5 separate regions of the Homo sapiens genome follow, and regions 1, 2, 3 and 4 are each linked to region 5. The links are contacts of gene promoters, found by promoter capture Hi-C in blood cells and fetal thymus (Javierre and others, 2016). All regions are on one chromosome and are shown on one strand. The core of a region is centred on a gene start or on the middle of the fragment in contact, and the rest is flanking DNA. Distances in the headings are between cores, read along the strand shown. Region 1 has its middle 490 kb from the start of SEMA6D. Region 2 has its middle 530 kb from the start of SEMA6D. Region 3 has its middle 510 kb from the start of SEMA6D. Region 4 has its middle 270 kb from the start of SEMA6D. Region 5 holds the start of SLC24A5 (solute carrier family 24 member 5).

The links. Contacts are between HindIII fragments. The CHiCAGO score rates a contact against its expected background, and 5 or more counts as called.
Region 1: a contact is called between a fragment that was not itself captured here and the fragment with the promoter of SLC24A5 in region 5, in 2 of 17 cell types (M0 macrophages and M2 macrophages). The highest score is 5.6, in M0 macrophages.
Region 2: a contact is called between a fragment that was not itself captured here and the fragment with the promoter of SLC24A5 in region 5, in 3 of 17 cell types (M2 macrophages, M0 macrophages and endothelial precursors). The highest score is 8.3, in M2 macrophages.
Region 3: a contact is called between a fragment that was not itself captured here and the fragment with the promoter of SLC24A5 in region 5, in 1 of 17 cell types (M2 macrophages). The highest score is 5.8, in M2 macrophages.
Region 4: a contact is called between a fragment that was not itself captured here and the fragment with the promoter of SLC24A5 in region 5, in 1 of 17 cell types (M2 macrophages). The highest score is 5.3, in M2 macrophages.

The regions. Positions count from the first base shown.
Region 1 is chr15:47,228,063-47,230,762 of GRCh38, reverse strand. It overlaps a transcript of SEMA6D not described here. Among named protein-coding and RNA genes, the nearest start is that of SEMA6D, 490 kb to the left of the region's middle. The HindIII fragment of the contact is 900 bases long and covers 815-1,714 here.
Region 2 is chr15:47,187,661-47,190,360 of GRCh38, reverse strand. It overlaps a transcript of SEMA6D not described here. Among named protein-coding and RNA genes, the nearest start is that of SEMA6D, 530 kb to the left of the region's middle. The HindIII fragment of the contact is 1,729 bases long and covers 480-2,208 here.
Region 3 is chr15:47,206,505-47,209,204 of GRCh38, reverse strand. It overlaps a transcript of SEMA6D not described here. Among named protein-coding and RNA genes, the nearest start is that of SEMA6D, 510 kb to the left of the region's middle. The HindIII fragment of the contact is 8,594 bases long and covers 1-2,700 here.
Region 4 is chr15:47,451,102-47,453,801 of GRCh38, reverse strand. It overlaps a transcript of SEMA6D not described here. Among named protein-coding and RNA genes, the nearest start is that of SEMA6D, 270 kb to the left of the region's middle. The HindIII fragment of the contact is 2,195 bases long and covers 296-2,490 here.
Region 5 is chr15:48,119,736-48,122,435 of GRCh38, reverse strand. SLC24A5 (solute carrier family 24 member 5) reads right to left here and starts at 1,446. Exons shown (of 9, transcript NM_205850.3): 1 at 1,271-1,446; 2 at 400-579. The coding sequence starts at 1,391. The HindIII fragment of the contact is 6,566 bases long and covers 1-1,549 here.

The DNA.
Region 1 (2,700 bases), core at 15-2,514, 890 kb after region 5:
AGTGTTTCTCAGGCAGTTTCTCATCCCTTTCTCAGGAATGGGGCCTAAGAATGTGCATTTATTACAAGTTCTCAGGTGTGGCCGACAGTTGCTGGCCAAGGGACTGATGACACTTTGAGAACCACTGACTTAGAAAGCAGAGTATAAAGGAAGAAATCCTGGTGACCTGTGACTCCAATGTCTATAGAAGGATGGATGAGATAGAGAAGGCAGAGTAAGAGCCAGCTACTTATAGGGCACCTACCACTTGTGTTAGGTACTGGAGATGGGAGACAGAAGGAAACACAGGCAAATCGTTACTCTCACACAACTGACACTATAGTGATGTTTATGCATTTATATGTCAGTTATTGGTGGTGCTTTCTTGTTTGAATTCTACATGCTAATTATTCTTATATGTAACCATGGAAATCTAGCATTCATGAAAAGTATTTGTATATTCAAGATATACAACTTTACATAGATTATATTCTGTATAAGAAAAATAAAACTTATGTTACAATAAATTTTATTAAATGAGAGTGTGAGGATTACACAGGCAAAAACTGGAGCAGATTAATCAAAAAATCCTGGCAGACCTATGCTTTATAGGTTAAGATAAAAGTTTTGCAGATTGCTTAATCCTCAAATATTCTTTGCCACAAAGAAGAATTTTTCTAAGAGAGGCCTGAAGTAAAAACACTTCCAAGAGAGTTGCCAAAATTAGCAAATAAAAATAAAACTTCAGTTAAATTTGAATTTCAGATAATAAACAATGAATTTTAATACAATAAAGTTTCATGCACTATTTGGAACAGGTTTATACTAAAAAGCTTTTCATTCTTTATCTGAAATTCAAATTTAACTAAGTGTTCTATATTTTATCTGGCAACGCTAACCAAAGCAGACTTTGACCAAACATTCATTCAATGAAAATATAATATGTTATCAGTCTTCTAGAGAAGATACAAGCATAGAACATATTCAGTCCCACACATAATAAAGAATAAAGGATGGTCAGACTTCAAAGGTTTTAAGAATGCAGTGGAGAAGGAGACCAATATGACTGTAATTGTCAAGGAACGGGAGCTTCATCATCCAGCAAATATGACTTCAGCTAGTCCTGCAGACATCTTAGAATTTGATTAGCCAAATGCTAGTACCAAAGGTATGCAGAAGTGAACAGTATGCATATAAAGTATAGAGTCTGGACAAATGACAGCAGACAAATGGGAAATAAAGGAGATCAGCTGTGACAGACTGAGCCAATATCTGCACACCAGCACACCCTCACAACCTGTATAGCACAAGGCATCTTGGGGCACAATTACTGACCTTTGTCAAATTTCAGTATGTATTATCCATGACCATAAACTGCATCCCCCATTTTTTTAAGACCACATGGAGAGACCTAAAAGCATAGCACACCACAGGGCACCTAGATATTCTGAGCCACTAAGACAAAGAAATAGCATCTGATGCTTGGGGTGTTTTTAATTAGAAAACAAATAGATCTTTAGTCCTAGAGCCATGAGAAAGACACCTGGGAATTTTTATCTGTGGAGAAAGAAAAAGGCAGCAGCTGGAAGAAGTCAACTCTTTATCTGATTCTAGTTTGAAATGAAGGTTCTGTATATCCTGTATCCCCAAAGCAGTAGCATAGAGCCTCATGTTGGAGTCAGTAGACCAAAGTCTAGTCTCTTTAGTATACGCTCAGTAAGACAATAAGTAAGCTTCAGTTTCCTAGGTGTAAAGTAACAGTTTGGGATTATACGATCTCTCATGGCCCATCCATTTAAAATTCAGTGATTAATTGAATAAATCATTCACTCATTAAACACTGAGAGCTGCCATATGCAAGGCAATTTTCTAGGAGCTGTGATGGATACAGAGAGAATAATTTATTCATGGTCATTTATTTGTCACTAGGTGAAACCTCATCCTTACATACAGGGACCCACTTTGGCACTCCATAGAGGGCTAGTCTCTGGCCAAGTGAACTCAGACTGCCAAGATTTGTTATAGCCAGTCTCCTGCCTCTCTTCTATATTTATTTTACTCTCTTTTCTAAGTCCCCTTAAAAAAACTCCACTTGTCTGCAATTCAGTAGGGCATCCTGGTCTCAGCCTTCCAGGGTGACAATTAATTCATCTGATAAACTCAAATATGTCAAAGCCCTAAACTAAAAAGGAGGAAGCTACATCTGAGTTACCTGCAATGTAACAGTGAACATCAGCTATTTTTTCTCTACATATGAGTGACTTCAACTAGGAACTGACTGAGATTTAACAAATAAAAGAGATAAACAAACATTTACCAAGGCTTATTGGTTCTGGGACAGAGCTATCATTTAACATCTTATTTGATCTGTGCAACCATTTTCCGACAATAGTTTATTAAGTCCTCATAGATTAACCCAAGGAAAGAAATAAGCAGTAAACTTGCCCCAGGTCAAAAGTACCAGTGCCAGGAGTAATCTACATTTGTCTTCATACAAAACCAATGTTCTTCCTGGTAAAGCAGCTGATCTACAGGCATGGTTCCAGGCTGCTGGTACGACTCAATCACTTGTATGACATATCCATCAATAAGTTAAAGTAACAAAAGGTTATATATATATGTGTGTGTGTGTGTGTGTGTGTGTGTACACACACACATATATATGAATTCTTATATATATAAAATATATGATGTATGGATTCAATTTCTTGAATTCTTATA
Region 2 (2,700 bases), core at 95-2,594, 930 kb after region 5:
TGGTAAATTTTCAAGTTTCCTCCTCACTTTTCCTGTGTGAACATTTCTCTTACGTGCTTTGGATGGAAATGGATGTTACCAAATCTTGGAGTTCAAACTCAACAGCCTCAAGAGTTATTCATACCTGAACAAGCTAGTGAGGGATATTAACTGGTCTCCAAATCTCTTAGGGGTCATTTGAAGACAAATTCTCTGCCCAAATGTTATTAATTAGATATTTAGCACCTTAGCTAGCTTATTTCTGAGAGCCTTTGGAGATCAAAAGGGGTGTGAAAAAGTGAAGAGAATCAAAGCTCAAACACCAATTTGAATTGAGCTGCACAATGCGAATTTACTCCAGCACTTTGTTGCAGTGTAATCTATAAATAATCCTCTGAGGTTCACTTGCCAATTAGAAATCATCACATGGCATACACCATAGATGTCAGTAGTTAATTTGCATGTCAGTGATACATTAATTTGATGAAAATTTTAAAGCTTTATGCACTATTTATATCATAATTGGAAGCACATTTAGTGTACTAATACACTGATTTTTATTGTATCCAATGTGCTTTTTAAAAGGCCAAGTTTAAATGATCATTATTTATCATTGTCTGTTTGATAGTTCGTTTCAGTTCAAGACAACACATCTGCATTTTAGACTTGAAGCTATTTTAACATTAACTGTAATCAAGATGTCTGGAAAAAAAAGTCATGTCTATGTGGGTGATAGAAAAGATGAAAATCAGGTTTACATCTAGAGGTAGCTGGTTAGATTTGGAAGTTTAATTCAGAGTTTTTGGCCTTAGCCTAACCATGCCTCCTTGGGTCGATAATTTAGCGATAATTTAGTTTTGTGGTTTTTGGGGTTTTTTTTCTCTCAACTTTTTGCTTCATTTTATTTGTTTCTCCCTGAGTTTTTCTACAGTCAAAAAGTACAGTTTTGTGGGTGGTCCCTTCTAAGAGCTGAAAATGGTTGTTGATTCAAGTACAAAGAGAAACAACCTGTGGGTGCTTAAACGTTAACTACTGTATTTAAGTGTGGTACTTAGAACAAATACTGTATTTACATAGAAATTTCAAAAGCTGCCAGCCTGGTGGGATTAGCTTGCCATGGGAATTGTCACACCTGTCAATCAGGTCTGCCAGGGTAGCAAGGGGAAAGCCAATGATAGAGAGACAGAGGAATCAAGAAAGAGAAGAGAGGAAAAGAGAAAGAGAAAGGGAAAGAGAAGTGTATGGGAGTTTCCACTACCATGGAATCACAATAACTTTTTCTACATTTATTTCCACCCTGATATCCTCAGACTACTTAAGTCTTAGTGTGCCCAGAAAATTAAAAGATTTAGTTACTTGGCTTTTCTGATTGGTGCTATAATAGTGTTTTTCTAGAAACTGAATGTCATTAAAGTCAGGGTTGGGCTTTCATTTTGGTGCAACAGATGTATGCACATGTTGACTTACTTTGAGCTAATTCCTTAGGAGTTTATGGCTTCTCCACCCAGCCAGAATACAAGTATCTTTAGATCAGAAATCTTGCCTCCTTTGTCTCATGTCACCTCAGCATTTGCAATATTAGACCTTAATAACTACTTGCAGGCTTGATTGTACTTCTAAACACTTATTCATAACAACTTTGATGATCTGCCTTCTTCCACAATTGAAAAAGAAAAACAAAATAAGACATTATGACAGAGAAATTGTATACATAAGTAGAATAAAGTAAGGTCATTTGGAAAGATAACACATATATTCATTCCAAGGAGTCTTATATGATAATAAATTAAATCTCCCATGGGCTCTGAGCTTTCTTGTGCCTAAAGCAAAAAGAAAATGTAATCAGTTAAGAAATCTACATTACCCCTGAGATTAAAAATACTAATTTATCAGAAAAAAAGCTAGGTATCAAGAGTACACACAATCATTAATTTGCATTGTCTTATATCTCCTCATTTCACAAATGTTTCATTTTTATTACCCATTAATGTTAGTCTTCACGTTACAGGAAATATAAATGAATATTGGTTATTAAAATAAAAATCTAATTCAAAGCATTTTCTTCACAATAGCTTGTGAAAGAGAAGACTAAATTTAGTATTTAAATGGGCTTATTTGAATCACTTAATCAATGTGTTTCTAGTTGCATTTAGTTATGAAAACTGAATCAAACATCATCTTTCTTAGTAAACATTTAATAAGAGCTAAACTCATAGAAGAAACTAAGCTTTTAAAATAAAATGTTCCCAAAATAAACATTGACGATATCCATTTTTACATAAATAGAACAGCATCCCCCAAAAATAAAAAAGTGAGTGGAATTAAAGCCACCATTCAAATGTAGCAAAGCAAAGACACCATGAAACTCTCTTATTTTGCCTTATGCTTTATGAAGTTAGTGCCTGATTTACCCAAATGTATATTATGTACTACACAGCTCGGACTTTTAAAGGTCAAAGACAAATTCCTCAGTGAATTTTATTAAATGAAACTTGCCCTTCTTTTCCTGTCTTAAGTCCTGACTCCAGGTTTAATAAAAGTTGTTCTTCTCTCTTCACCCCTCCCCCCACTAATTCCCACGTTTTCAACAGTAAGTTCTCTAACCAGACAATGCTGAAGATATTTGCACATAAATTTATGACATAGGAGAAAAATAACAAAAGAGTCAGACCCAACATAGTATTAATTTAAAAGGCAATTAATTTTGAAGAAGAAAAAGGG
Region 3 (2,700 bases), core at 74-2,573, 910 kb after region 5:
TGGAAATATTTCCCCATGTACTAATATTTTATTGAATATTTTATTCCCCATGTATTATTTTATTGAACTATACTATATATAGTTGATACTTTTGAAACATGAGATTATCCTACCTATTAGAAATAATGGAATGGCCTTGGGTCTAGCTATTGCAGAAAACAAAGAATATCTCAAAGAGTAAAAAGGAGAGATCTACAAGCTATGCATGTGGTCCAGCTGACATCCTGAAACTGGACTCCTTCTTATTAGTGAAAATTCTTCCTTTATTGTTACTCACATTTGGACAAACAGCAGAGTGAAAGAAACCACAGGCAGTATGAGGGACTCTAGTTATCCCAAGAGGTCAACCCAATCTTATTTATCAGTGAAAATACTAAGCCCAAAGATGTTATAGGACATGCCCAAGACCAATCTGGTAGTCAGAAACCGTCCTGGAATGAGAATACCAACTTCTGCCCAATGATAAGAAGAAATATTAATATTTTTGATTGACTCAAATATAATTGAACATTATTACTTTGGGGCTCACTTAAGACCATGATGAGAAATGGACAATTAATGGGATTTAAAAACTGTTTAATGTTCTTCTATGCTTTATAATTTTCATTGTTCCTGAGATCTTTATATTGAAGAAATGGAAAGCAATAGAATGTATAGCAGTATAGTGTAATGATGAGGGTAGTGGCTAGTTACTACCATCTGCTGAACACAGAAAACACAAAACAGCCTACAAGCCTCTTCTGAAACACGATTCAAAAATCACCTAGTATTTAGAAGGTCTCTTGTATCAGCAGGTTTTTAATGCTTTATTTAATATAGAGGACTAAATAGAGAAGATATATCTCACCTGTATTTTCCTAAGACTCTAAGCATAAACTTCCTTATTATAGTGATAATAAAGATAGGTAATACTTATTCGGTATTTTCTGTATCTCTAGCACCATTCTAAATGGTTTTAATACGTTAACTAATTTAATCAGTATAATAATCCCATGAGGTGGGTCATATTATTTTTCTCATTTAAAAAAAATGTGGAAACTAAAGACCAGTTGGTTTTAAAACAAGCCCCAAATCTCACAGCTCTAAGTGGCAGAGACAGGATTTAAACCTGGGTAATCTGACTCCACAGCTGAAAGTCTTTAACCGTTACAGTAGTGTGTGTGTGTGTGTGTGTGTGTGTGTGTGTGTGTGTGTGTGTGTGTGTGTGTGTGCGCGCGCGCCAGTGGCTACTGTACCTGTTTCCACAGTCACTCCCTCCTGTCCATTATTGGTACCTCTGATGTTGATTTCCCAACCTGGTGAAGTACCAGAATTCCCTAGAAGGCATCTGTAAAATGGACATCTTAGTCCTCTCCCCAGGGTACTCTGATCTCGTACTAGATGAAGTAGTTTCAGAAAGCACAGTGGTTATTCTGGAGGTACTGCTCCAAGGACCCATGTTTGGGAGCCACAATTTAGAGCCCTTTTCTCTTAGAGGACTGCCTTTTTCATGAAAAATATGGCCTAGGTGCAAGGAGCCAGAAGAGGAGGAAAGACAAATAGGGTAGCCAGGCAGATTTGCTAAATTGGAACCTTACCAGCAAATCTTCACATCCTCTTCTCAAACCATGAAATTCTTGAGCACAAGGACAAAGCACTACTTAGACTTGGACCTCCCATGATGGCTAGACTTGTGCCTGATTCATAAATAGGTTCTCAGTTAATATTTACTGTCTAGGTTTCTAGGTCAGTATTATTGGAAAAGGGTAATAAAATAATGGTTTTCCAAAGAGACTCAGAAGAGTTTTCTGACTGACAATTGCCTACTGCCCTCATGATTTTTTAAAACCCAGAAATTCTCTCACCGCATTGTAAATGGGAGATATAGCAGGAGGGCTTCTTTACCATAGTGGCACAGAGGAGGAAATAAGAAGGTCAAGCACAAATGGAGCAAAGGAGGAAGCCATGTATAAATGATGGGAAAACTGCAAGTCAATGGAGAGATTAAATATAATCAATGTTCATTTCATCATATTAATTAAATCAAGTGACTGTATTCTTTTTAAAATTCTTTCAAGGCTGGCTCCCTAGGACCCTCAAGTGAATTGAGCCATTCCTTCTCTCTTCCACTGCTGCCTAATTGCCCACCACAGGCTAATGGGCAAACAGTCCTCAGCAACCATTTATCTTTTTTGAAGTTTTCTCCTGGAGCCTCCTTCATGAGTAGTGGTAGGTTTTCCCTTGAAGTTATTTTTTCTCTCTCTTATTTGTTTTTTAAGGCATTTTTGGAGAGGCTTCTTTGCTGTTTGTTTCTGAAGCAAACCAGGAACACTAATTTGCTTTTGTTGGTTTTTGGAAGCTACCCCAGTGGGAGCAGCTTGCTGTGACCAGGATTTCGGCCTGTGGATGGTGGGGAGAGGGCTGCAGGAATGCTGTTGTGACAGATAGGAATGCCGTTGGCTAAGTGAACACATTCATACTGTAGAGCTGAGGAGCAGAATTCCTGATTTTGAGAAGATGCAGCCAATCAGAACATGCACACATGACCACCCGAGAACCATGCATTTATTATGTCTGCGTAATTGTGCACAACATAGTAACTGCTGGCTAGGATGGAAGCTACTGTTTTCCTTAGACATGGAAATGTAGTGCAAATGCGACGCTGCAGGTAGAGAAAAATCTTCACGGGCTCTGAGGCTGGAAGGAAGCTGATAGTTCATT
Region 4 (2,700 bases), core at 144-2,643, 670 kb after region 5:
GGCATGCCAGAAATTCTGGCCAAAGATGGTATCCACATGGGCTCTTGATCTCTCTTCTACGCCATCTTTTTGAAAAGAGCTATTAGAAGTGGCTCCTGTTTTGAAGTAGATCAAACCAGTGACATTTGATTCTGCCTCTTTGTGGAGTGGGGCTATTGGTTTTAGTTCATGGAAGCAAACTGAAAACTTGCAGACGTGCTGTTACTACATAAATTTGGACTCTTCCCTGACCTCGAAATACAGATAGACCCTAAGTAACATTCCCAGCTCTTTCTTCTCAGTGGGATGTAAAGCTTTTGTGCACATAATGAACTCAGATATTTTAATAGCTGATTTGTAAAATGTAATAGCTATCATTTTAATAGCTGTTGTCATAACCTCTACAGATTCACTGTGGATGGATTTCTATGTGAGGTTTAGCATTGTTGATTTACTTTTTTCATATCTGTTCTTTAAGCGATAGAAATTGTCACTTTTGTTTAAAACACATTTGTTGAAAGGGTGTTTTTTTTTTCGAAAGGGCACTTAAGTCATTTTTATTTAAAATAAATTAATTAAATTTATCTTTCTCATTTGCCTCTCCATGACCTTTTGGGAACTTGGAAATTAAATTTTATCCTAATATTTTACTTTCTAGCTTGGCAAACATTGACACTATTTTAGATTCTGAACAAAGTTGAGAAAGCACAGATTTGTTTTTAAAAATCATTTCAATTTTGAAACAGGAAGTGATAGTGATTCTGGAGATTTATCTGCTGTGGTATGAGCTTTACTTTTTCTTTTTAAATGAACTACAAATGAGAAGGTAATGCAATCATAAAACAATCAACTAAAACAAACAAACAAATAAAAAACTCATGGGGATAATTTCAACTGTAAATACATTCATTTAAAAATAAAAAATGTTCATGCTGTTATTCAATAAATACTATTATTTGACATGATACCATAATAAATTACTGAACAGAAATTGAAATATCTGTTATTAAGAAGACCAAATTGAAATTCCTATTAATGAGAATGAAACAAAGTAAAGATCTCCAAAATGTGCCAAAGAGAAGAAGTAGGTCAAACAATTTGCTATGGTAATTTAAAATGGTTTTTCATACTCAATCACATAATCATGTAATAAAAATATTCCAGAAGTTTCAGAAAATATTATTTAAAAAATAAAACAAACCCAAAAACATCCCATTAAAATTCAAGATTTTTTTCCTTAAAAATGTCAGTATTTTTTATGATAAAAGAAAGGTTTTATTATGCTATGTACACACTACAAAAACCACTAATTGCATGTGGTCTTATAATTTTTGAAGACATCACCATAGGTAGATAAAATAAATATTTATTCTTCTATGTAAAGATATAAACTGGAGCTTAGAAACATAAAGTAACTTGCCCAGATTACACAGATGCTAAGTGTCAAAGCTGCAACTTGAACACAAGTCGTGTGACTTTGAGTCCAGTTTTTTTTTTTTTTTGGTTGATAAACACACCCTTAACTCAATTCCTGAAAAAGTAGTGATGATAGGTTTCTATAAGACTGAATGGACACTGAAGAGCTCCTTGAACAAAATTATTGATTTGCCTCATCGTTATTATCATTAGTGAGTTTTGTTTTGTTTTAATTTAGTGCTTGCTGCTATGAAGAACTCAAAGAAGAGTGACGAAAATTAAGTTCTGGTCTAGGCTTTAAGGGACTAAGAGGTTAGTAGGGGAGTTATCCAGGAAAAGAAGTAGTAACTGAGGTCTACGTATGAACAACACAAGATACCAACACTAAGTACCAATGGCCTTCACAAAAAGACGCGATCAGGTGGGAACTGGAGTGAACAGCAATTCAATGTTTGGTTTTTGTCTTAAATCAACTATATTGAGGTATAATTTACATACAATAGAATGTATCCATTTTTAATGTACCATTCAATGTCCACTAAAATCAAGACCAACAGCATGTCCATTGCCTGCAAATATTCCCCCCAGCTTTTCCTCAGTCAATCTCTTCTCCCACTCTTGGCCTCACACGACCACTGATCCAGCAGGGTTTATTTAATAATTGAGAAAGTGCAAAGAGGGTAAAGGAAACAGTGAGAACAAAGGGAGGACTTAAATCATATGAATTCCCCAGTTGTTAGAATTCCAGGTTATAAACCTAAATAAAATTTTCAGACCAGGAGGGAAAAATGATTTGGGTTTGTGGGGAAAGGGACAGCCACCTGCTCTCCTATGTAACCTTTCTATTCCTTCCCCAAAGTCATTTTCTGATTTCTCACTCCTCATCCAGTCACCAACCTTAGGCCCATCCAGCACTTATATTTATCTCTAGGATAAAAATGGTACCAGTAGGGCTCTGTAGTATTGGGAAGCTGTGATTGATCTGGATCACACTGGTAGCTCCAACCACCATCCTCCATGTCCATGCATCCTCACCAAGATTCTACTCAAGTAGTTCTTAGACTTCTGGGGGTCACAGGCCTCTTTGAGGAAGCTTTTGATCGCCCAGTAGTATGCACATCAACCATTTTGCATTCGATTTTGGGTTCACAGGGCTCCTGAAACCCACTCCCAGAATCCCAAGGGTGTACTTGGTGTTCAGGTAAAATCCTTGCCATAACCTGTGTGTTTTCTGCACCTTCTTTCACTGGACAAACCAGGTAGATATATCTCATACCCTGCAAAAGGAATCAGGAAAGCCTCTGC
Region 5 (2,700 bases), core at 197-2,696:
AGCGAGCTTAGAGTAAAAATAAAAAAAAGTTTTTTGAAGCATAAAATGGCAAATATTAGGAGTTTCATTGTATTAGGAGCGCACACAAAGTACATACAAGTGAAATCTTGGAACAGTTCTTATAACAAACATCCAGGCAGTAGACAAACTAGAGATTTCTGGAAATAGGCAGAAAAATAATAACTGCCGGGTTCTAACTTGAAGAAACTCTGATTCACATTAACTACCAAGAGAAACCACACTCGACCAGTTCCTTAAGACACGGGACCCCACAACAAGAAGCTGGTGCTCTGCAACCAGTTGAGAAGTACAGGACAGCTGCTGAGCTATTTCAAAGACAGTCATATCTGTGTGGCACACTCTCCCAGAAGGTTACAGGGCAACTTTCCAGCCACTTACATTCACTGATGATTTCCAGGGAGGGTAGGAAGTATTCATCACAGACAATAGATATGGCCATGAACATGTAAACGATAATTAGGAAATAGATTATGATGCCTCCATCTCTGCGCTCCTGTCTCGTGAAAAACCCTTCGGGAAACTCCGATGATGGAGAAATAACACATTGGGTGCTATTTCCTGTTAAGGAAAAGGAGGTGAAAGTTTGAAGAGTTTGGAGTCACACATTCCAAGCCCACAGAGAGCTTCCTTAAGAAATCTGTAAGTGTGGGGTAACCGGGTGGAATTTTAAGGACCCACTGAAAATGTATAAAGCGCTTCTGAATATAACACAGTTGTAGAGTTTTCAAAAAATTTTTTTGGGGGACTGAAAAGAGATATCTTAATGAAATATGTTGATGATGGTGAAGAATTAAAAAGAGGAAATCATGAAATCACTCCTCCTTGTTTTTATTTCTGAATCTCTCTTCCCCAAGTAGAAACTGTATCTCTGATACATGAAGATTTCTATTGTTTATACAATTTCGTTTTCTCATTGCAGAGCCTAAATTGTTCACAGGCCTGCAAAGAATCCATCCACTGTTGCAGAGAGAATTTCTAAGATGAAAGATTTTTTGTTTTCACCAAAAAGTCTCCAAGAACAAAAACTGGAGACTTGGCCTACTATGATCTCTGTGAATTACTTTGGAGTATATTTAAGAACTTATTTGAAGGATCAAAAGTGTTTGATATCTTTTTAAATGCTAAAATTCAGAAGCGTAAGTAAAAGTGAGCCCATTGAGAATTTTCCTCTTTTTGTCCCTTCATCTGTATGTGGTAGCAGCAGCAGCAGCTGCTGCTGCAGAGCTAACTGACCCCAATGTCCACCTACCTGTGGCCCTTGGGAGACGTTGGGGCAGGGAGGTCCCTGAGAGAGGCAGATGTGCAGTGGCCCACAGGATGCCGAGCAACAGAGCCCTTCTCGCCCATGTTTGGCCCCCTTTTGTCTGCATTTCTGCTGTGCTCTTACTGCAGCGTGCAGCTTCAGGAAGGGAGAAGAGGAGGATTAAACTGGATCATGTGAGGAGTCTCCTTCCTGCCCAATACCCTGCCCAGGGCACATCTCAGCAAGGCCAGCACAGGAGAAAGGGCGAGTGTAGCCAGTCAAGCTTCTCTGATCAGGAGACCCAATCTCCAGGGAGGCCGGAGGAGACGGAGGAGAGCTGACAACCATTGTCTATAGCTATTTCCATGGCCTACAGTCTCTAAGGGCAGATTAAGGCAGCTTGTACTTTATGAAAATGTGTGGTTTTATTTAATGTCTTCATACTGGCTCTGCTTTTGACTTTCTCTAGATTTGTAAAAAGTTGGGTTTGCAACTGCTTCCCATCTCTCTCCAGCCCTTTCCCCTAGAAGTTGTTTGGGTTGATATTAATATATGTACATGCTTTGGCTAGCTCGGCATCCTTTCATATTTCTGTTTTAGCCTCTCATCTTCATCTTCAGTTAGGGCCAAAGGGAGAAAGGCCAGTTAGGGCATCATTGCAATCGTCTAGCTGAGAAATGATAGTGGCTTGAACCAAGGCTGTGGCAACGGGGATGGAGAGTAGCTGACAGTTTCAAGAATTATTGAGATGGAGTGGATGCTATTTGATCATTGATAGGCTGTGCTTTCTGCCAGAGGGAGCTATCTAAAATGCAAATTTGACGTACAAGGTAGTGTTTAAATATAGACTACTATCTTCCCTATGCTAACATTTATGAGGCTTGCCAAGATATTTAGAACTTTTGGCAGTGTAGTAACCTATAGCTAATAGCACAGGCTATGGAACCAGACCACATGATTTGAGCCCTAGCACTGCTACTTACTAGTTATGTGACTTTTGGCATGTTATTTAACCTTTCTGCTACACAGTTCTGCTATCTGTAAAACAGGGATCACCTGTATTTGGGTTGTGGTAAGAATTACAAAAATGAACGCAAATAATTTGCTCAGAACGACCTCTGGCTGACGTCTTCATTCCTTCCTTTCTTTTTCTTTGTTTTGTTTGTTTTCCTTCCTTCCTCCCTTCCTTCCTTCCTTCCTTCCTTCCTTTCTTCTCCTCCTCCTCTTTCTCTCCTTCCTTCCTTCCCTCCTTCCTTCCTTTCCTTCGTTCCTTCTTTCTTTCTTCCTTTCTTTTCTTTTCTTTTTCTTTCTTTCTTTCTTTCTTTCTTTCTTTCTTTCTTTCTTTTTCTTTCTCTTTCTTTCTTTCAATTGAAATAGAAGCGTTTTTGTTCATAAAAATTTTTGTAGTTTTGCAACTTTCATGGTTCCTTTGCTTT